4 separate regions of the Homo sapiens genome follow, and regions 1, 2 and 3 are each linked to region 4. Evidence: promoter capture Hi-C in 16 types of primary human blood cells and fetal thymus (Javierre and others, 2016). All regions are on one chromosome and are shown on one strand. The core of a region is centred on a gene start or on the middle of the fragment in contact, and the rest is flanking DNA. Distances in the headings are between cores, read along the strand shown.

Region 1 (5,324 bases), core at 1,562-4,061, 4.2 Mb after region 4:
AAACAAATAAGGCCGGGCGCAGTGGCTCACACCTGTAATCCCAGCACTTTGGGAGGCTGAGGTGGGTGGTTCACCTGAGGTCAGGAGTTCAAGACCAGCCTGGCAAACATGGTGAAACCCTGTCTCTACTAAAAATACAAAAAGTTAGCTGGGCATGGTGGCGGGCGCTTGTAATCCCAGCTACTCGGGAGGCTGAAACAGGAGAATCGCCTGAACCCGGGAAGTGGAGGTTGCAGTGAGCCGAGATCGCACCATTGCACGCCAGCCTGTGCAACAAGAGTGAAACTCTGTCTCAAAATAAATAAATAAATAAATAAATAAATAAATATACTTAGTCACTTCTTTGCTAATGAAGGGCAGCACATTTTTTTTTTTTTTTTTGAGACAGTCTTGCTCTGTTGCCAGCCTGGAGTGCAATGGCGCAATCTCGGCTCACTGCAACATCTGCCTCCCAGGTTCAAGTCATTCTCCTGCCTCAGCCTCCCGAGTAGCTGGGACCACAGGCATGCGCCACCACACCCGGCTAATTTTTGTATTTTTATATTTATTTATAAATATAAGATGTAATCCCAAAGTGCTGGGATTATAGGCGTGAGCCACTGCACCTGGCCAGCACACTCTTTTATTTGAGACAGAGTCTCACTCTGTCACCCAGGTGGAGTGCAGTGGCGTGTTCTCGGCTCACTGCGACCTCTGCCTCCAGAGTTCAAGCGATTCCTGTGCCTCAGCCTCCCAAGTAGCTGGGATTATAGGTGCGTGAGACCATACCCAGCTAATTTTTGTATTTTTAACAGAGACAGGGTCTCACCATGTTGGCCAGGCTGGTCTCAAACTCCTGACTTTGGGTGATCCACCTGCCTCGGCCTCCCAAAGTGCTAGGATTACAGGCATGTGCCACCTCACCCAGCCAAGACACTCTTTGTGGGTGCTAACACCATAGTAAGAATATGTACCTGCCACCGCTATGAAAGACACATTCTCTGCCCATTTAAGAAACAGAACTTTATCAGCACTTACCTTGCAAAAGAGGCTTGGGAAGTGGTCTGGAGTCATAGGGGCATAGGACAACTCAGACAGCACATCCACAGCTCGAGGGCCAATCAGATTGAGGGCTAAATGGAAAAGAACAAGAGATGTCCAGCTCTCCTTCTGAACAGCTGAGCCAATGGGAAAGGTCTACTGTAGACTTGCTCAGCTATAGCCAGGCCTGGGTGCAGAGACCAGGAATATGTCCCTTTGCTTAGACACTCCAAGGATGGATGCTAAGCACCCCGATTCTGGCGAATACACCTCTGCCAACAGGGCCTGCTGAACGCAGCAGGGCTGGCCATAACCACCCCACACAATTCCCGTTCTCCTCCTTTTCCCAGCAAGGCTATGTGATGGAAGAAGCCCCAACCCCAAATCAGTACCCGGTGGAGATCTGCCCAACCAAAAAGTATACAGACTTTAAATTCAGAGAAGCTAAATCCACTTCAAACATATCCTAATGCTTACTAGATAAGGAAAGCATTATTCTGGACACCAGTGTTTGTGACATCAGCTTGTGCTAATTACATGTCATCCATCCTAAGACAGGCTAGAACATGACTTTTGTTCAGTAACATTCTGTAGTATCCCAATCCAGGAGCAGGACGTATATCATATTTGCTACTACAAGGAATTGAGAATGAGAGCCTGGGAGAGCAAACGCTGGTGGGGCCAAGGGGCAAGATCAGTTAGGTGGGAAGGTGGGAGGGGTTAAGCCGAGACTGCTGAGAGTGAGAAAATCAGGGAACCAAGTCATCCTTAAAAATTAGGTACTCTCTGGGACTGGGCGTGGTGGCTCATGCCTGTAATCCCAGCACTTTGGGAGGCCGAAGCAGGTGGATCACGAGGTCAAGAGTTCAAGACCAGCCTGGCCAACATGGTGAAACCCCATCTCTACTAAAAATACAGAAATTAGCCCGGCGTGGTGGCGGGCGCCTATAATCCCAGCTACTTGGGAGGCTGAGGCAGAAGAATCGCTTGAACCCGGGAGGTGGAGGTGCAATGGCATGATCTTGGCTCACTGCAACCTCTGCCTCCCAGATTCAAGCGATTCTCCTGCTTCAGCCTCATGAGTAGCTGGGACTACAGGCATGCACCACCATGTCCAGCTAATTTTTGTATTTTTAGTAGAGATGGGGTTTCACCATGTTGGCCAGGCTGGTCTCAAATTCCTGACCTCATGATCCGCCCGCCTCAGCCTCCCAAAGTGCTGGGATTACAGGTGTAAGCCACTGTGTCCAGCCCTCAATTTTCTTTTTTTTTTTGAGATGGAGTCTCACTCGCCTAGGCTGGAGTGCAGTGGTGCAATCTGGGGCTCACTGCAACCTCTGCCTCCTGGGTTCAAGTGATTCTCCTGCCTCAGCCTCCCAAGTAGCTGGGATTACAGGTGTGTGCCACCACGCCCAGCTAATTTTTGTATTTCTAGTAGAGACGGGGTTTCACCATATAGTCCAGGTTGGTCTCGAACTCCTGACCTAGTGATCCTCCAACCTCGGCCTCCAAAAGTGCTGGGATTACAGGTGTCAGCCACCGCATCCCCTAGAGATCAATTTTCTATGACCAGAGAGCCTCTTTTATGCTAACTCTAATGTTCATTTTTGAGAGTCAAATGTAAAGAAGGCAAACGTGGACACATCTGCATCTGCTGGCCTTTTCGACGTGGCAGAGCCCGAACCCCCGTACCTGTGTACTTCCAGGTGACGTCCTCCAGGAGCAGGTTGCTGTCTTTCGGCATGTGTTTCTTAAGCCAGGCCCAACAGTGGACCTGCTGGTCGGTTGGAGAGATCATGAAGAAACTGAAAAGTGAGACCCCAAAATAATCAAAACCAGGTAGCAGCAAAAGGATCAGGAAGCAATCAAATCTTATTTGGTTTCAAAGCAATGAGGCAAATACTAGGAAATGATTTCTTAGCTTTCACAGAAGGCCAGTAGCACCATTCTAGGATACACCACCTAACAACAAAACAAAATTCTGGCTTCCTGTTAATGCCAAGAAATTATACAGATTTACTAACGTTAAGACATCGGCTGGGCACAGTGGCTCACACCTGTAATCCCAGCACTTTGGAGGCCAAGGTGGGCAGATTGCTTGAGCTCAGGTGTTCAAGATCAGCCTGGGCAATGTGGCAAAACCCTATCTCTACAAAATATACAAAAACTGGCTGGGTGTGGTGGCGTGTACCTGTGGTCCCAGCTACCTGGAAAGCTGAGGTGGGAGGATCACTTGAGCCCAGGAGGTCCAGGCTGCAGGGATCCATGATCGCATCACTGCACTCCAGCCTGGGTAACAAAGTGAGACCCTGTCTCAAAAAAAAAAAAAAGAAAAAAGACAAGGCATCTTCTCCCAGTAGGGTACATAATCTGGTGGGCTTTTTTTTCTTTTCCTCCTGGTGATTTCTTTTGTTTAGGACTGCTAATAAACTGGCTTTGATTTCATGTAATGATTCTTAGACTCTGGGATTTATGGTTCCCGGAGAAGCGCCTGAGAGCCTCTGCTACAGCACCCCTAAGGAATCAACATGTTGGAGGGAGCAGAGCGGGACGGCAGCTCATCTCACCTGCGCTTGTTCAGTCGTGCTATGCTGCAGTCATTTTCATACCCTCCACCCTCGTTGAGCATGCCAGTATGCACAATGTGGCCCACAGGCACATCCAGGTCATTGGAGAAGAGGTACTGTAGAACTTCTAATGCCTGATCCCCAGTGGACTGCAGGGTTAGGGAATGAAACAGAGAGAGTGAGCGTGAGAGCACCTGGCTGGGCCACATGGCCCCACCAGCAATGAACCTCATTGAGAAAATTCAATCAGCCAATTCCCATGTGACAACATTTGCAGACCTACTCCACTGCAAGAAGCTCCAGGGAACGCTAGCTATTGATTCTTATGATAAACAGGCCTCTCTAGCAAATTAAAAACCTGAAACAAGGAGCTAAAATTTCAGAAAAATGTTACAATACAGATGAAACACTAAAATATACCAGAATTCTTAAGAAATCAGTGTTTTGTTTTTGTTTTTTGTTTTTTTTTTTGAGATGGAGTCTCACTCTGTTGCCCAGGCTGAGTGCAGTGGCGCAATCTCAGCTCACTGCAACCTCCACCTCATGAGTTCACGCGATTCTCCTGCCTCCCGAGTAGCTGGGATTACAAGTGCCCGCCACCATGCCTGGTTAATTTTTTGTATTTTTGGTAGAGACGGTTTCGCCATGTTGGCCAGGCTGGTCTTGAACTCCTGATCTCAGGTGATCCACCCGTCTCGGCCTCCCAAACTGCTGGGATTACAGGCATGAGCCACCACTCCTGGCCTTAATTTTTGTATTTTTAGTAGAAACGGGGTTTCACCATCTTGGCCAGGCTGGTCTGGAACTCTGACCTCAGGTGATCCACGCCCCCTTGGCCTCCCAAAGTGCTGGGAATACAGGCATGACCCACTGCACCCAGTCAGGAATCAGTTTTGAAGATGAAAAACAAAAGGCATTCAATAAATATGTAAAGTTTCCTAATCTATTACTTTTTGGTTCCCAAATACTTACTGTTATCTCAAACTTTGTGAAAGAGGACATGTCAATGACACACACAGCTTCCTTACAGCACTTGACTTCAGACTCCACGATGTCAAACCAATCTGGCTTATAGAAAGTCTTGCTCTGCTCCAATGCCAGGAGGTCTACGGAATGGAAAAATCACAAGGCCCTGTAGAGTTTAGTGTAGTCCACGTGGTTCTTTTTCTTCTGTGAACACATTCTAGCCTATGCATTTGAAAATATGTTTTATTAATTCCCAGGACAAAAAAAAAAAAAAGAAGCAAAAATGAGAATGTGACTTCTTACCCTTGTCGGGGGGAACAAAGTACTTTGGCCTCTCAAATCCATGTTTCTCCATCCACCTGGCTCCCTGTGCATCCAGCCGGTCGTAGAGAGGAGAGGTGCGTAACTGCCTACCGGTCTGGAAGTCCCAGCGGGGAACCTTCAGATCATACATCAAAGCTAGAAAAGACACGAGTAGTCTATCAAAGCCCAAGACACAGATTCTAGACCTGAGTAGCCCATGTCCACTAGACTCTGGAGTTGTTTCTATTCAAAAGAGCTTTCCAGGCTAACGTAGTTTTTTTTTTTTTTTAAGACGGAGTTTTGCTCTTGTTGTCCAGGCTGGAGTGCAGTGGCACAATCTCGGCTTACTGCAACCTCTGCCTCCTGGGTTTAAGCGATTCTCCTGCCTCAGCCTCCCGAGTAGCTGGGATTACAGGCACGTGTCACCGTGCCACACTAATTTTTGTATTTTTAGTAGAGACAGGGTTT
Region 2 (5,643 bases), core at 945-3,444, 4.3 Mb after region 4:
TGGCAGAGGACCAAATACAGAAATGAATATAACAATCTCAGGGACAGGCAAAGCAATAAATGGAAGACACTTGCTTACCTGTTTGGATCCCTGTTTCTTGCTCTAACTGATAGTAGAGTTTGTTTGAGTAGTCTGCCATCTTCTGCTCAATGGTCAAGTGCCTGGCAGTGCTCAGGATGCCAGCACAGAACCTGGTAGAGCCAGCAGCCAGCCTGCAGGATGGATGCAAAATGCTATTAGGTAGATTGACGTCATCTGTGAATACGAGGTCAGGGTTTCTCATTTAATACTGTTTCTAACACCAAAAGATGGAAACAAGCTGGGCACAGTGGCTCACACTTATAATCCCAGCACTTTAGGAGGCCAAGGTAGGAGGACTGAGGACTGCTTGAGGACAGGGGTTTACGACCAGCCTGGTCAACACAGGGAGAACCCATCTCTACCAACAACAACAACAAAATTAGCCAGGCATGGTAGCACATGCCTGCAGTCCCAGCTACTTGGGAGGCTAAGGCCAGAGGAGCGCTTGAGTTCAAAAGGTAGAGGTTGCAGTGAGCTGTGATCACATCTCTGCACTCCAGCTTGGGCAACAGGGTGAGAAAAATGTTCAATGACATGGGACAGATTTAAAATTCTGGATAGTTTAGGCCAGGCACAGTGGCTCATGCCTGTAATCCCAGCACTTTGACAGGCTGAGGTAGCAGGTTCACTGGAGGCCAGGAGTTCAAGACTGGCCTGGGCAACATAGCCAGACTGTGTCTCTACCAAAAAAAGATAAAAATAAAAATAAATAAACAAATAAAAATAAAGGCTGAGTGCGGTGGCTCACGCCTGTAATCCCAGCACTTTGGGAGGCTGAGGTGGGCGGATCACAAGGTCAGGAGATCGAAACCATCTTGGCTAACACAGTGAAACCCCGTCTCTACAAAAAATACAAAAAATTAGCCAGGCATTGTGGCAGGCGCCTGTAGTCCCAGCTACTCGGGAGGCTGAGGAAGGAGAATGGCATGAACCCGGGAGGTGGAGCTTGCAGTGAGTCAAGACTGTGCCACGGCGTTCCAGCCTGGGTGACAGAGCGAGACTCCGCCTCAAAAAAAAGTAAAAAAAATAAAGATAAAAGTTAGCCAGGCTACTTGGGAAGCTGAGGCAAGAAGATCCCTTGATCCCAAAAGTTTGCGGCTGCAGTGAGCTAGCATTGTGCCACTACACTTCAGACTAAGCAATAGAGCAAGACCCCATCTCTAAAATAAAATAAAATTTTGGAATTCATCTATACAATGGAATATTATGCAGCTATAAAAAAGAATGAAAAGGTCTTTATGTACCAAAATGGAACAATCATAATGAAAAAGCAAGGTGAAGAACAGTGTGTAAGGTATGCTCCCACTTATATAAAAAAGAGAAAAAATATAATAAATGAATATCCATACACATATACACAAACCTACCAACACATAATTGCTTATAGAAGTAGAGAATATAACTAGAACTTAACTTCCCTCCAGAGAGAAAGCTTTTTGTTAGAAGTGAAGATTGAGGGCTGGGTGCAGTGGTTCACATCTATAATCCCAGCACTTTGGGAGGCTGAGGCAGGCAGATCACTTGAGGTCAGGCGTTCGAGACCAGCCTGGCCAACATGGCGAAACCCCATCTCTACTAAAAATACAAAAATCAGCCGGGCATGGTGGCAGGCGTCTGTAATCCCAGCTATTCAGAAGGCTGAGGCAGGAGGATCGCCTGAACCCAGGAGGCAGAGGTTGCAGGAGCTGAGGCTGCACCACTGCACTACAGCCTGGGTGACAGAGCAAGACTCCATCTTAAAAAAAAAAAGAAAGAAAAGGAAAGAACATTGGGGAGTCTTTTTCCTGTATACTCTTTTACATATATATATATATACTTTTTTTTTTTTTTTTTTTTTTGAGACGCAGTTTCCCTTGTCACCCAGGCTGGAGTGCAATGGCACAATCTCGGCTTACTGCAACCTCTGCCTCCTGGGTTCAAGCTATTCTCCTGCCTCAGTCTCCCGAGTAGCAGGGATTACAGGTGTGTGTCACCATGCCCAGCTAATTTTTGTTTTTTTGTTTGTTTGTTTTTTTAGAGACGGAGTTTTGCTCGTCACTCAGATTGGAGTGCAATGGCACAATCTCGGCTCACCGCAACCTCCACCTCCCAGGTTCAAGCAATTCTCTTGCCTCAACCTCCCAAGTAGCTAGGATTACAGGTGTGCACCACCATGCCTGGCTAAATTTGTATTTTTAGTAGAGATGGGGTTTTGCCATGTTGGCCAGGCTGGTTTCGAATTCCTGACCTTAGATGATCCACCCGCCTCAGCCTCCCAAAGTGCTGGGATTACCGGCATAAGCCACTGCACCCAGCTTCTTTTACATATTTTCAATTTTGAATCATATAAATACATTGCCTATTCAAAAGTACATAAACTTTACATTGAAAAAAATGTTCTCTAATTTGTGGTAGCAACAGAATATAAAGGCTACAGTAATGCTAGGGCCCAAAGACCCAGTTTTGCAAGGGACCCATATGTCAAGAAAGCAGGTGGGGGGTTCTAAGGTCATTTTCCCCAAATTATTTATCACTCAGTAAATAAACTAACATCTGTGTCAGCATGCCTGTCACTTGAGTTTACTGTATTTACTCTAATAATTATATTTTCCACATAAGATTGTCAGCTCCCTAAAGAGATTTTTCTATCATCTTTGTAACTGTGTGGAGCTCCACCCCAGGTGGGAGTTCCATTAACTGGCTGGTGGTCAGCACCTATAGCTCTGGTGACGTCTCTGCTGGGATAGCACTCCTTGAGCAGCTTTGACAGTGGCTCTCGCCCTTGGAGGTACATTAGAGTCCCCGGGGAAGCTTTTAAAAATATTGATGCCTGGCCTCACCCCTAGAGATTCTGGTTTGTTCTGGGGAGAGGTCTGGGCACTGGTAATTGTTAAAAGCTCCCCAGCTGATTCTAATGTGCAGACAGATTTAAGACCCATTGATCTATGAGAACAATAGTGAAGATGGACAAGAGGAATAATTATACATAAAGGGCAGTATAAAACCATTTCACAAGCCACGGATAAGGCATAATAATAACTATTATTTTTTGAGACAGTCTCACTCTGTTGCCCAGGCTGGAGGGCAGTGGCACAAACTTGGCTCACTGCAATCTCTGCCTCCCAGGTTCAAGCAATTCTCCTGCCTCAGCCTCCTGAGTAGCTACAATTACAGGCTTATGCCACCACGCCCAGCTAATTTTTGCATTTTTAGTAGAGACGGGGTTTCCCCATGTTGGGCAGGCTGGTCTTGAACTCCCGACCTCAGGTGATCCACCCACCTTGGCCTCCCAAAGTCGTGGGATAACAGGCATGAGCCACTGCACTTGGCCGAGGCATAATTTTTTTTTTTTTTTTTGAGACTGAGTCTTGCTCTGTCGCCCAGGCTGGGGTGCAATGGTGCGATCTTGGCTCACTGCATCCTCCGCCTCCTGGATTCAAGTGATTTTCCTACCTCAGCCTCCCGAGTAGCTGAGATTAACAGACGCGAATAACCACTCCCAGTTAATTTCTGTATTTTTTAGTAGAGACGGCGTTTCACCATGTTGGCCAAGCTGGTCTCGAACTCCTGATCTCCGGTGATCCACTCACCTTGGCCTCCCAAAGTCCTGGGATTACAGGTGTGAGCGATCGTGCCTGGCTGGCGTAATTATTTTTAAGTGTGAGGTTTAAATAGTCTGCCTTATATCAATTCTAAGGTATTATATAATCTTGAAGCAACAAATTAAACCAAAAATGAACCTCCCTAGGGTCTCCCACTTAGAAACATTTACACTGCGATTAGTTTATCACTTTTTGTGGAAATACCTGATAATTAAATTTAAAAGGATTTCAAAAAATAGGAGAAAGACTTTGACATCAAGGAAGCATTATGAGGCCAAGTGTGGCGGCCCACACCTGTAACCCCAGTACTTTGGGAGGTTGAGGTGGGCGGATCACTTGAGCCCAGGAGTTTGAGGCCAGCCTGGACAACAAGGTGAAATCACGTCTCTACCAAAAAAACAAAAAATTAGCCAGGCATGGTAGTGCATGCCTGTAGTCCCAGCTACTCAGGAGGCTGTGGTGGGAGGATCACTTGAGCCCAGGAGGCAGAGGTTGTAGTGAGCTGAGATTGAACCACTGCACTCCAGCCTGAGTGACAGCGTGAGACTCTGTCTCAAAAACATTAACAAAAACAAAACCCACTTTTGCTCTTAAAAGTATCCACTGCGGGCCGGGCACGGTGGCTCATGCCTGTAATCCCAGCACTTTGGGAGGCTGAGGCGGGTGGATCAGCTGAGGTCAGGAGTTCAAGACCTGCCTGGCCAACATGGTGAAACCCCATCTATACTAAAAATACAAGAATTAGCCAGGTGTGGTGGCATGCAACTATTAATCCCAGCTACTTGGGAGCCTGGGGCAGGAGAATCACTGGAATCCGGGAGGCACAGGTTGCAGTGAGCCGAGATCACGTCACTGCACTCCAGCCTGGGTGACAAAGCAAGACTCTGTCTCAAAAAAAAAACTATCCACTGCATAAAATAGAAATCCATGAGTCTAAACTGGTGTGTGTGTGTGTATGTGTGTATACAGATATATAACTGAGTAAATAAATGGGGGAGAAGGAAATCTCTTCCTGACAGTAATATGCCAACTATAATAAATGTAGAAGTATGATCAAAAAATCACCATTTGTCAACCATCACGGTGGTGGCTGACTCAGGCAACAGTTGTCAATGGATGCTAAGCCCGGTAGGTGGAGGTCTCATATGAACAGGATATTGGCATAATCTCAGAATCCATCTCTCCTCAAAGGGCACTGGCCCATTACAAGGGGAGAAAACAGGGTCTCTGTGCTAGAGATGCTTGGAGGACACCAATGTAACTGAGTGACCAGGTTTATCACCACCAGAAGTGAGACAGGACAGCCATACACCTCCTGATGTGGTGCACTGCTGAGAGTCCAGCCTAATTTCTGTGGTCTTACTGCCAAAAATGTATGACCTGGTTATGATGATGGATGCACAACTCTGTAAACAGATTTCAGCACTTAACAAGGATGAGTGGCATGGTATGCAAATTGTATCTCAATACAGTGATGGTTATAAAAGTCTCTAACCCAAGTCTGATCACAAGACAACAGCCTAGGCCAGGTGTGGTGGCTCGCGCCTGTAATCCCAGTACTTTGGGAGGCCAAGGTGGGTAGATCACTGGAGGTCAGGAGTCCAAGACCAGCCTGGCTAACACGGTGAAATCCTGTCTCTACTAAAAAAACAGAAATTAGCCGGGCATGGTGGTGGGTGCCTGTAATCCCAGCAACTCGGGAGGCTGAGGCAGGAGAATTGCTTGAACCCAGGAGGCGGAGGTTGCAGTGAGCAGAAATTGCACCACTGCACTCCAGCCTGGGTGACAGAGCCAGACTCCATTTCAAAAAAAAAAGAAAGAAAAGAAAACAGCCTAGGCAACACAGGGAGATCCCATCTCTACAGAAAAATACAACAACCAGCCAGATGTGGTGGTGCATGTCAGTAGTCCCAGCTACTTGGAAGGCTATGGCAGAAGGACTGCTTGAATCCACGAGGTCAAGGCTACAGTCAGCTGTGAT
Region 3 (5,387 bases), core at 665-3,164, 4.2 Mb after region 4:
GGTTTCTGGCGTGGTTGACTATTCCTGGAACTGGAATAGAAGGGGCTGATTTAGAAGACAAGATGAAGAGATTGTTGTAAACATGTTAACCTATGAGATTCTCAAAAGTACAAATACTTAAAAAAAAAAAAACTACTCAAAAATTACTTTGGGCCAGGCACAGTGGCTCACGCCTGTAATCCCAGCACTTTGGGAGGCCAAGGTGGGTGGATCACTTGAGGTTGGGGGTTTGAGACCAGCCTGGCCAACCTGGCGAAACCCCGTCTCTACGAAAATACAAAAATTAGCTGGGCATGGTGGCGCGTGCCTGTAATCCCAGCTACTCTGGAGGCTAAGGCAGGAAATCACTTGAACCTGGGAGTGGAGGTTGCAGTAAGCCAAGATCACACCACTGTACTCCAGCCTGGGCAAAAGAGCAAGACTCTGCCTCAAAAAAAAAAATTAGTGAACAGGTCAAGTCCAGGGACCAACTTGTGGATGGAAGCTGGTGTAGAAAAAGAGCACTGGTTGTTTCTCTCAGGGTTGTTTCCACAGGGTGAGAACACGACCCCCCTTGCTTTCCACACAAACCTGAGTGCACACGTGCCCGTGTGGAACATCAGGTGGCAGGTTCCTCCTGAGGTCAGCTGTAGGCAGAAGGCCGGTCGGAATTTCAGGAGGCGGGAAGCTTTTACCCCCAGCCACTCCAGCGCTGCAGGGAGGGTAAGATAAACACCTACATCTTCTCTACCCCCGTCCCCAAATCCTCCCTCACACTGGTACACACAGGGAGGTACACACTCTCCTCTGCACGCTGTTTATGCTTTGTGGTGGCAAACACATTTAAGTCACTACAGATGAAGAACATTTCACAAGCAGCCGTGCAAGAGTAGTTAAAATGTGTTTATTCATTTACAAACCCAGTAACATGAGAAGAAACTCAGTGGAAACCTTGCTTGGTGGAGACAGTGCACAGTGTTAGTGCCACATTCACAGGGGCAGAAATGCTCGGTCACCCTGTGCACCCAAAGTCACCCAGGATCTCTAGAAAAGATCCCACTTACTGAAGTGCCTCGGATGTCTTCAGGGCCAGATTGTAACTACACAGGAACAGGGAAGGGCTAAGCTGAACTGCAAATTGACAAACACAAACGATGAGTCACAGGACTCTACAGTAGTTACAATGGCATTTTTATATGTCCCAAGTGTTGACTGGAGAGTAAAGTGTTAACTGAGCTGCTAGAACACCCTTCACTGAAAGAGCTTTCTACCCCACGCCCATTGTTCCGAAGAAGGAGAGGCTATGTGGGGCGGATGGGAACCCACACACCGAGATGAACTTTTCTCTTTCTTCCAATCTGCACCCACCATCTGACATTCTGGAGTGTAAGGCACTAGAACCTGGCTTAGAGAATAGTGGGGCTCTAAGCTCCAGTTCTTGGTGTGCAAAGGAAATTCTGACATACATCTTTTGAAAGAGATGCTAAAAAACCCTCCCTATCTCCTGTAATTTCTGTCTTTGACAGACAGGAAAATAAGAAGGCAGAAGATGGTCTGCAAAGGATAAAAACAGGTGCATCTAAGAATGAGAAAAATGGCTCATGAAGAAATGTGTAACTCTCCAAGAGATGCAGACACTCTGCTCAGAGAAGTCAAGAACCATAAACAACTCTTCATGTTTCATGGACAAAGGGAAGGCAAAGGCATACAAAAATACTCAGTTGTCTTGAAAAGTGTACTGGTAGTGATCAGGGCTACAAAGGCGAGCCCTGTACTGACAATGGAGGAGCCTTACAACTCAGCACCTTAAATTGTTGGCCTGAAGTGGTGGCGGGGAGGGAGGCGCTGACGGAGAGACCCATGGCTCACCACTTATTGCGTGTACACAAGGCCTGGGGCAAGCCTCACAAGTCTACCATTTCTTCCACTCAACTGTGCTTCTCCTGAATCCATGTGCCTGAAATGACATATGCAAGGTGAACATTCTTTATACTGTGTTAATACTGCTTATATCAATGTTCGTGAGGGGTGTGTGGGGGATGGGGTGCAGCAGGAAAATTAGAATGGCAGGAGGTTCTTATTTATTATTAAGCACTGTTGACCAAACCTCTATCTTAGATTTTTTTTTTTTTTTTTTTGAGACAAGAGTCTCACTCTGTTACCCAGGCTGGAGTGCAGTGGTGCAATCTCAGCTCACTGCAACCTCTGCCTCCTGGGTTCAAGCAATTCTCCCACCTCACTGGGCCTCCCAAAGTGCTGGGATTACAGGAGTAAGCGACCACGCCCGGCCAACCAAACCTCTATCTTAGATGTTAAAGAAGACCCTTATTGACTACACTGGCCAAGAAGCAACAGAGATATAAAGCTGAATCTTGTAGCTAACCCCTGAAAGCAAGCCAACGCAAATTCCTCCGCCAGGCCAGTCTTCTAGTGCCAATATGGAGACTGTGGGCCACAGAAGATTCCCTTCTATTTCAGGTTCTCAAAAAGTGGTGTAGACTCAGGCAAATGCCAGGAAATGTGTCCATATGCCAGAGGAGACACAGAGCCAGAAATGAAGGCTATGGGTCCTGTCTTCAGTGAAACACTGAACGCTCTCGGAAAGCTCCCATCATTCTTGCATCGCTACTGCCACCAAGACGGTGGCAAGGGAGGAGGCTAACTTTCAAATGCATGCAACGGCAGGTAATATACTGTGGAAGCTGGAGGTTTACTTTTCATGTTTTAGTTACTTTCTTGCAAACAGCAGTCCAGGAAAGCAAGCAAGCAGGTAAAACTCCGGGTGTGCATGAGGAGATGATCCAAGGCCAGTGGGCCTCCCAGTGAGAACCAAACAGGAGTGGCCAGGCTCCACTCCTGGGGCCAGAGTGAAACCGGGGTTTAATCACTGGGCTATGTGGTCTCTGTGTCTCTGGCCTGAATGAGATCTCTTCAATGTCGGGGGACAGGGATCCCTGGAAGAGCGTGAAAAATACAGTGGTCACTGTGCAGTTCTCTCTGCTGGAGCCTGTCCTGCCATCATACAAGGTGCTGTGACAGCAATGCAAGGTGAAAGGAGATCAAATGGCCCAGCTCAGCAGTTAGTGTTTGTCCCTTTTTGCTCTTCAGAGTTCCTGAATGAGAGCTTTTCTGGCTTCAGTACCAATGATCACAGAAGGAACATCTTCCTGATGCAAGCTTAGATGGAAGTCAATGACCCTGGCAGTGCTAAGAACAGAAGTCACACGTGGCCTGACGATGAAGGGGAGGTAATTAAAGACATTTCAAGGGAGGGGAAGGCCCACGGAAAACTGGCAACCCTGGGTCTCCGTTTGAGGCCAATATACTTTGTGTTCCTAGGTTCAGATGGCATACACCGACAAGAGAAGGCAGAGACCATCCTTCGTGGTGAGCACAAAATGCTATGACAGGTAATTGCAGAGAGAAAAAAGCACCCAACTCTGTAAAGCCAAGTCCAGTCACCCATTCACAAGAGTCCAAAATCCTTCAAATCTCTAGGGACAGAAGACAAACGTGCTGCCCAGAATGAGCTGAGACACAAGGCAAACCCTTGGAAATGACACATGGATGAGGAGGCTGTGGTTGTCCCTCCTTATTCCTGCTGGATTTGCAGCCACGGCTCTGGATCTGGGGCATCTACTGGCCTCCCCTGTTCACTCAAGAGGCCACTGCCTCTCAGGAGTCCAGAATGCTCTGATATCTGACACCGGTGGTCAGGAAGTTATGCTGCCCTCTCCTCTTGAACAGCTAAGATGCTTGGACACTAGACAGAGGCAAAGCAGTTATGCCAGAAGCAGGGGAGAGTCATTCACTGTCAGATCTGTCTGTTCAAAGAGCTCACATTAGACCAATCACAGAAAACCACCAGACTCACACAGCTTGTATTTGAATGAACCAGGAGAGACTTCAAGGATCAACTCTAAAGTGCTAGAAGAGAAATCTGTGTTTGGGGCACTGAATAAACAAGTGATGTCCTAGAAGATCAACACCCCATCAGTCTTAGGAGTATGACCCTATTCATGGACAAGGGGTTTCAATGGACAGCCTGAGTGCTCAGCCCCCCATCCTCCTCTCCTAGCAAGACAAGCAGTCTGTTGCTCAGAGGGGGAAACTGATGTCATTTAACAGGAGGTCAGGATTTCTGGTTCTACTTCAACAAACAGTGCATAATTTTGGACACAGCATCAGATTTCCTGACTTCTTACAAAGGACAGCTAATTAAAAACGTGTCAATCTGTAGTAATTAGTTGGAGATTAACAAGGGCAGAAGAGAATCCAAGTCTTAAAACTCTATGTGGGATACATTTCTGATGAAGCTTCTATTTGACTAATATACTGTGATGATGGCACTATTCGATTTTAAACTATGGAGACAGCTTTTATTATTTCGATTTGGATCCTGGTAAGTGGTGATACTGCTATGTAACAGTTAAAGCACAAATGTATTGCCATAGTTAAGGTTGAAGAGTTATGTCTATGTGTAACTAAATTCTTCTGGATTCAATTACAAATACGTTTTCCTTTACAAAGATGGCTTTGGAGGGGTGCAAATGCTACGTGTTTGGAAGAGCAGAGGAGGCCTGCAGCTCTCAGTCACCTGTCTCCATCTTCGGAGGTAAGTCTGCTCCCTGCTGGTAATGCCTGCATCTGCCCAAGGGCCTGTTCCTCCTCTCCCAAGGCCTTCACAGCTGGTGTTCACTGGTTGGCCCTCCAGCCGGCAACACCTCTCCTCCTCTCTGCCTAGAGGCAGCATCTCTCGGCTAGTTAAGTACATACTTGCTCCAAGACAACTAGACCCCCAAACAGAATTCTAATCATATGCTCCTCTAACAAGCCAACCAGAACCTTCCAAAAAGGTTTAGGCACTAAAGTCAGTAATCACTAGGAGTGGTCTAGTTGGGGAAGTGGCAAGAAATGTCTAGAAGGAGCCAGCGTAAGTGGGTAAACAGAGATCCCAAAGAAACACCAGAGAAGGCAGACACCTGAGCATTTTAAGCTGCTCTAATGAAATGGAAGGATGTCCCTTAATACACTTATAGACCTATCAGAGCTAATGCTTCCAAGATACCAACACGCCAAAGGCTAGAGTTTTACTAACCAAAATGTCTTATAGCAGTTTATTTGCACTTAAAAAAAGTCAGATTAGGGCAGTTGATATGCAAGGGGAAAATGAAGCATTGAGGCTGGACAACAGTCCATGATATCTAAGTTTCACCTTGGGAAAACAGAGACACTGCCTGAAAGCGCAGGGCACTTCTGGGCACCCACATTGTCTCCTGCTCCAGAGGATATGGAAGGGTGGGTGGAGGGAAACAAAGAGCCTGGGGGGAAAGGAGGAAAAGCGGTCTCTAGCCTTATGCAACGTACACCCTTTGGACTCAGAACTCTCAGTGGACTAACGTGGGTCA
Region 4 (5,564 bases), core at 52-2,551:
GTGGGGCAAGGGAGCGTGAGGCTTAGGAGCAATTAGAGGGAGACAAAAAGGTTCTGCTATCCACCAAACCTTCTTCGGTCTGGGCCCTCCCTTAGCAACCCTGGGGCTTTATACTCCCTCTCCACCAATCCCTGATGACCCCGGTGGTGCCTCACAATGGACAATGCCAAGTAGCGCCCGCATCATTCCAATGACCCCTCCCCCATCTCAGTCTCCCACACTCCTCGCAAGGACAGGTCCTCTCTGGAACCTTCACAAACCTGATTTCTGGTCCTCCCCAACCAGCTCCCTGTCCCTGCTTCTGGGCTCTCCTTCCTTCCTGAGCTCCCAGGGTTCCTCAAGGTCACTTTTGGCGACAAAACATAAAAAACAAATGATGGCAGGATGGCAGGAAGAACTTCATACCCAAGCAGAGTGCCAGGTTTTACAGCCTCCGCTCAGCCATTCATATCCTAAGCAACAAAACATCAGCAGGATGCGGAAGGTCCCGATAGTAAACCATCTCCATCACATCCATGTAGCCATCCGTCCATCAACCTGTATCTCAGGAACAAATGTAGATACATTCATTTTAAGCATGCATGGTACATTTACAAAAATTAACCTGACTTATTTTGTTCCAGCAAATCTCAATATATTTGAGAGCAATCAAATCACACAGCATGTTTCTGATCATATAACTGTGCTAGAAGTCAATGATTAAAAGCTAATTCAAAATTATTATTTGCTTGGAAATTCAAAGTGCCCTTATAAGACATAAACATAAGAAAGAATCCAAAATGAAACAAGATTGCCTTTCAACTCAATGATGAGATCATAACATGGCAATAAAATGTCTCCCCCTGGCCTGGGAATTCCTCTTTGTGGCACAAGGTTGTGTGATCTCAAATCACCCCTAACCCACCTAGACATTTTAACATCTGAAACCGAGTGATGATGTCCTTATCTATAATCATCTTACTGCCTGTGTGTGTGGACTTTAAATTCTGAACCCAAATGAGGGGGAGAAAACCAAGTTGACCTTCATCATTGACCTCTCAGGGACGTCCAAGGAATCTGTGCATTTCAAGAAACAAAGTTCATCAGCTTCTCTCCTAAGGTATTTGCCCACAATACCCAGAGGGCTTGGCAGCATCATGTGTGATGGGTGGGGAGCTCCAAGCAGGTGGGCAGGACCCAGGGGTCTGGTGACCAGGACAGACCCCCACTGTCCATCACCTTTCCTGGCCCTGTCCTCAGCTGAACTTCCCACAGGCCTTCTGCCCGATCACACAGAGTGTGCCCAAACTCACTCAGGCCTCTGGCAGCTGAAAACCACTGCTTTAAATCCCTTTACCATTTACTATGACATAAGGTTATTGTAAACAGGAAATATTCTATTGATGCTACAAATGGAAAGCCAATGCCTTTACCATAAATAGAAAAACAACCCTAAGAAACAAGCAAAACAAAAACAAAACAGGGGCTGGGTGTGGTGGCTCACGCCTGTAATCCCAGCACTTTGGGAGGCCGAGGTGGGTGGATCACAAGGTCAGGAGTTCCAGACCAGCCTGGCCAATATGGTGAAACCCTGTCTCTAATAAAATACAAAAATTAGCCGGGTGTGGTGGTGGGCGCCTTAGTCCCACCTACTTGGGAGGCTGAGGCAGGAGAATAGTTTGAACCCGGGAGGCAGAGTCTGCAGTGAGCCGAGATTGCACCACTGCACTCCAGCCTAGGCGACAGAGCGAGACTCAGTCTCAAAAACAGCAACAACTACAAACAAACAAAAAACAGGGTTAACAAAACTATGGAATTCAATTCTATTTATATGCTGCAGCCATGTTCCAGCCCTAGATTTGGCTGGGCATGGTGGCTCACGCCTGTAATCCCAGCACTTTGGGAGGCTGAGGCAGGCGGATCACGAGGTTAGGAGTTCGAGATCAGCCTGACCAACATGGTGAAACCCCGTCTCTACTAAAAATACAAAAATTAGCCAGGCACGGTGGCACCCGCCTGTAATCCCAGCTACTCAGGAGGCTGAGGCAGGACAATCCCTTGAACCCAGGAGGTGGAGGTTGCAGTGAGCCGAGATCGTGCCATTGCACTCCAGCCTGGGTGACAGAATGGAATGAGACTCTGTCTCAAAAAAAAAGAAGCCCTCGGATTTCGGTTGTGTTGGTTGTAAAAGGAGAGACCAAGTAAGTGGGGGTTGAAGTCAGATTAGACCAAAAGTGAATGGCAGAGAGTACTATAATGTCCATGAAGGGTTGCTAGAGTCACCGTGATCATAGCCCAAGCAGAGACAGGGAAAGGAAGATGTGAGCAGAGTTTGGGGCCTCAAACATTGGAGGTTACTCGTGCAGCCCAGGAAAGGCTCCCCAAAGCCAGGATCAACCTCCCTTGCAGGCGGTCCCTCATGGAGGCATGGCCAGGCACCTTAGATTTGAGACCAGCTGTGTTGCTGCTGACCAGCTGTGTGACCCTGGGCTGGTTTCCTTGCGTACAATGGGAGTGCCAATGGCTGCATGCATGCAAAGACCATCTGAGGATAGGAGGAAGCAATCTGTTGAGCACCCGTGTACCTGAGTGTCATCACCTCCCAAAGGCATCCTTCGTTCCAGAGCTGGCACCTTGGAAGGCCCTTGGTTACTAAATGCAGTGATGATGGTAACAGCAGTAAATCATCATTTACGGCTGATGACGGAAGGCCAGGGGGTAGGGCTCCTAGGTCCTGGATAAGAATGAGGGTCTGGGCACTTCTGGGGACAGCTGAGTGGTAGAACTCCTGGGTCTCCAGGGGGCAGGTCCATCTTCAGTGGCATTGGGCCTAGGCTGGGATGCTGAGTTATCCACTGGAGCATCAGCAGTACAGGCAGGCACAGAGGCAGTGGATCCATCGGAGGTGGCAGGTGTAGGATCATCTGGTGAGCAAGTAGAGTCACCAAGCCTGGCTTCTAGATATAAGAGAAGTTCCTGGGCCGGGTGCCACGGCTCAAGCCTGTAATCCCAGCACTTTGGGAGGCCGAGGCGGGTGGATCACGAGGTCAGGAGATCGAGACCATCCTGGCTAACACGGTGAAACCCCGTCTCTACTAAAACTACAGAAAAATTAGCCGGGCGTGGTAGCAGGCACCTGTAGTCGTAGCTACTCGGCAGGCTGAGGCAGGAGAATGGCGTGAACTCGGGAAGCGGAGCTGGCAGTGAGCCGAGATTGCGCCACTGCACTCCAGCCTGGGCGACAGAGGGAGACTCCGTTTCAAAAAAAAAAAAAAAAAAAAAAAACCAAAACAAAACCAAAAAAAGAATGTTCCAGAAAATTGCCATTTATTTATCTAATAGGTACTGTTAAGCTAGAATATTTGAATTTTGAAGAAAATAGTAGCCGAGCATGGTGGTGGGCACCCATGATTCCAGCTCCTTGGGAGGCTAAAGCAGAAGCATCACTTGACCCCAGGAATTCAAGACCAGCATGGGCAACATAGCGAGACCCTGTCTTTAAAAACTTTTTTTTTTTTTTTTGAGACAGAGTTAGCTCTTGTTGCCCAGGTTGGAATGCAGTGGCGTGATCTCAGTTCTGATCTCAGAGGCGGGCGGATCACAAGGTTTGGAGTTCGAGACCAGCCTGACCAATATGGTGAAACCCAGTCTCTACTAAACATACAAAAATTAGCGGGGCATGGTGGTGCATGCCTGTAATCCCAGCTACTCAGGAGGCTGAGGCAGGAGAATCACTTCAACCCGGGAGGCGGAGGTTGCAGTGAGCCAAGATCGCACCACTGCACTCCAGCCTGGGCGACAGACTGAGGCTCCATCTCAAAAAAAAAAAAAGATTGTTCTCGAAGTCAGGGCTGACAACCCTCTCAACCACAGCAGCGGTGGTAGGGACAGAGAGGTCCGAACAGAGGAGAGGCACTGAGGAGACAGACCCTTTGAGGCTGGGTGATGAGCAGGAGGTGGAGGGAGAGGCGAGTGGGGAGACCAGGTGAGTCCCAGGTTTCTGGTGTGGTTGGCCATTCCTGGAACTGGAAATAGAAGGGGCTGATTGAGAAGACAGGATGAAGACACTGTTGTAGACGTGAGCCTACGGGGTTCCCAGATGTAGCTGCTCCAGAATTAGTTGGATAAGCAGAATAAGACCATTGACTTGCAAGACTGCAGTGAGTGAAGATTTCCTTAAGAAGGCGTAGGCCCTGATTTCACCATTCTTATATAATTGCACTATCAGACAGCCTTTATTTGAGCTGCAAAAAAGGCTACCTAGTAAACCAGCCCAAAACTCAGTGCCTTACAACAAAGCATTCAGTGCCATGCTCATGAGACTGTAGGTGACTATGGTCTAGCTGGACAGCTGTGTTTCAAACTGAGAGTCAGTAGGCTTGGACAGCTTTGTTTCAAACTGAGGGTCAGCAGGCTTGGACAGCTTTGTTTCAGGCTGAGGGTCAGCAGGCTTGGCTTCAGGCTGAGTTCAGGTCTGTTTCAAGTGCCTTTCACTTTCCATGATCCAACAGCTACTCAGGGCATAAACTTGTGACAAGGGCTGATGACATGCTCAACACCTCTTAAGGCCAATCTCCAGATCTGTACACTATGGCTTCTACCCACCTTAAAAAATAAGTTTGGTTGGCCAGGTGCAATGGCTCACGCCTGTAATCCCAGCACGTTGGGAGGCCAAGGCGGGCGGATCACAAGGTCAAGAGATTGAGGCCATCCTGGCCAACATGGTGAAACCCTGTCTCAACTAAAAAAAATTTATATATACAAAAATTAGCTGGGTGTGGTGGCGTGCTCCTGTAGTACCAGCTAATCGGGAGGCTGAGGCAGAAGAATTGCTTGAACCCAGGAGGCAGAGGTTGCAGTGAGCCGAGATCGTGCCACTGCACTCCAGCCTAGCGACAGAGCAAGACTCCATCTCAAAATAATAATAATAATGTTTGACTGAAGCCAACCAACATCAGTGGGACAGGAATCCTACTCCCCCCATTTCGTGCACTGCAAGGTCACATGGCAATAGGGAATGAGGAATTGAAAACAACATCCCATCTACCATAGCTAGCTGCGTTCCTTCCTGTTACACTGCCTGCTTTTTTCTGTCTCTGTATCCAGCCCTTACATCACCCAGTCTCAGATGCTTTCCTGGCCACCTGTCCTATGGCATAGTGCAAAGATCATTAGATTCAGATATTCAACATGGGAAGAGCTCCATTTCTGGTCCTTCCTCCTAGGTGTGTGATCTTGGAAAAGTCATGTTACATCTGTGTCTACTCTATCTGCTAAAATTTACTTCATGAGATTGCCAGAAAGATTACGTGAGCTGATACAGAAGGAAAAATTTTGTCCTATGTATTTTCATTAAGACCCAGTGCAAGTCTTCCCTCTTAAAAAAGCTTTAAATGACTACCATTTCTTCCCAGGACTCTTAGTTAACATCCGGTGGCTTCTAGATATAAGAGAAGTTCCTGGGCCGGGTGCCGCGGCCCACGCCTGTAATCCCAGCACTTTGGGAGGCTGAGGCAGGCAGATCACGAGGTCAGGAGATCGAGACCATCCTGGCTAACACGGTGAAACCCCATCTCTACTAAAAA

The links. The method cuts DNA at HindIII sites, captures the fragments that hold promoters and counts their contacts. A CHiCAGO score of 5 or more calls a contact.
Region 1: a contact is called between a fragment that was not itself captured here and the fragment with the promoter of NPIPB15 in region 4, in 5 of 17 cell types (M1 macrophages, total CD4 T cells, naive CD4 T cells and 2 more). The highest score is 17.7, in M1 macrophages.
Region 2: a contact is called between a fragment that was not itself captured here and the fragment with the promoter of NPIPB15 in region 4, in 11 of 17 cell types (M1 macrophages, total CD8 T cells, M2 macrophages and 8 more). The highest score is 22.1, in M1 macrophages.
Region 3: a contact is called between a fragment that was not itself captured here and the fragment with the promoter of NPIPB15 in region 4, in 16 of 17 cell types (M1 macrophages, total CD4 T cells, non-activated CD4 T cells and 13 more). The highest score is 222.3, in M1 macrophages.

Annotation. Positions count from the first base shown.
Region 1 is chr16:70,141,922-70,147,245 of GRCh38, reverse strand. PDPR (pyruvate dehydrogenase phosphatase regulatory subunit) reads right to left here. Exons shown (of 19, transcript NM_017990.5): 12 at 4,857-5,012; 13 at 4,560-4,693; 14 at 3,588-3,736; 15 at 2,713-2,825; 16 at 1,018-1,112. Among named protein-coding and RNA genes, the nearest start is that of CLEC18C, 29 kb to the left of the region's middle. The HindIII fragment of the contact is 5,651 bases long and covers 1-5,324 here.
Region 2 is chr16:70,121,829-70,127,471 of GRCh38, reverse strand. PDPR (pyruvate dehydrogenase phosphatase regulatory subunit) reads right to left here. Exons shown (of 19, transcript NM_017990.5): 4 at 79-212. Among named protein-coding and RNA genes, the nearest start is that of PDPR, 10 kb to the right of the region's middle. The HindIII fragment of the contact is 1,358 bases long and covers 1,516-2,873 here.
Region 3 is chr16:70,158,012-70,163,398 of GRCh38, reverse strand. It overlaps PDPR (pyruvate dehydrogenase phosphatase regulatory subunit), which reads right to left. Exons shown (of 19, transcript NM_017990.5): 19 at 862-5,387. LOC400541 (a long non-coding RNA gene) reads left to right here. Exons shown (of 3, transcript NR_126007.1): 2 at 4,510-4,594. Among named protein-coding and RNA genes, the nearest start is that of CLEC18C, 13 kb to the left of the region's middle. The HindIII fragment of the contact is 2,489 bases long and covers 670-3,158 here.
Region 4 is chr16:74,372,043-74,377,606 of GRCh38, reverse strand. It overlaps NPIPB15 (nuclear pore complex interacting protein family member B15), which reads right to left and starts at 1,301. Exons shown (of 8, transcript NM_001306094.2): 1 at 261-1,301. The HindIII fragment of the contact is 9,807 bases long and covers 1-5,368 here.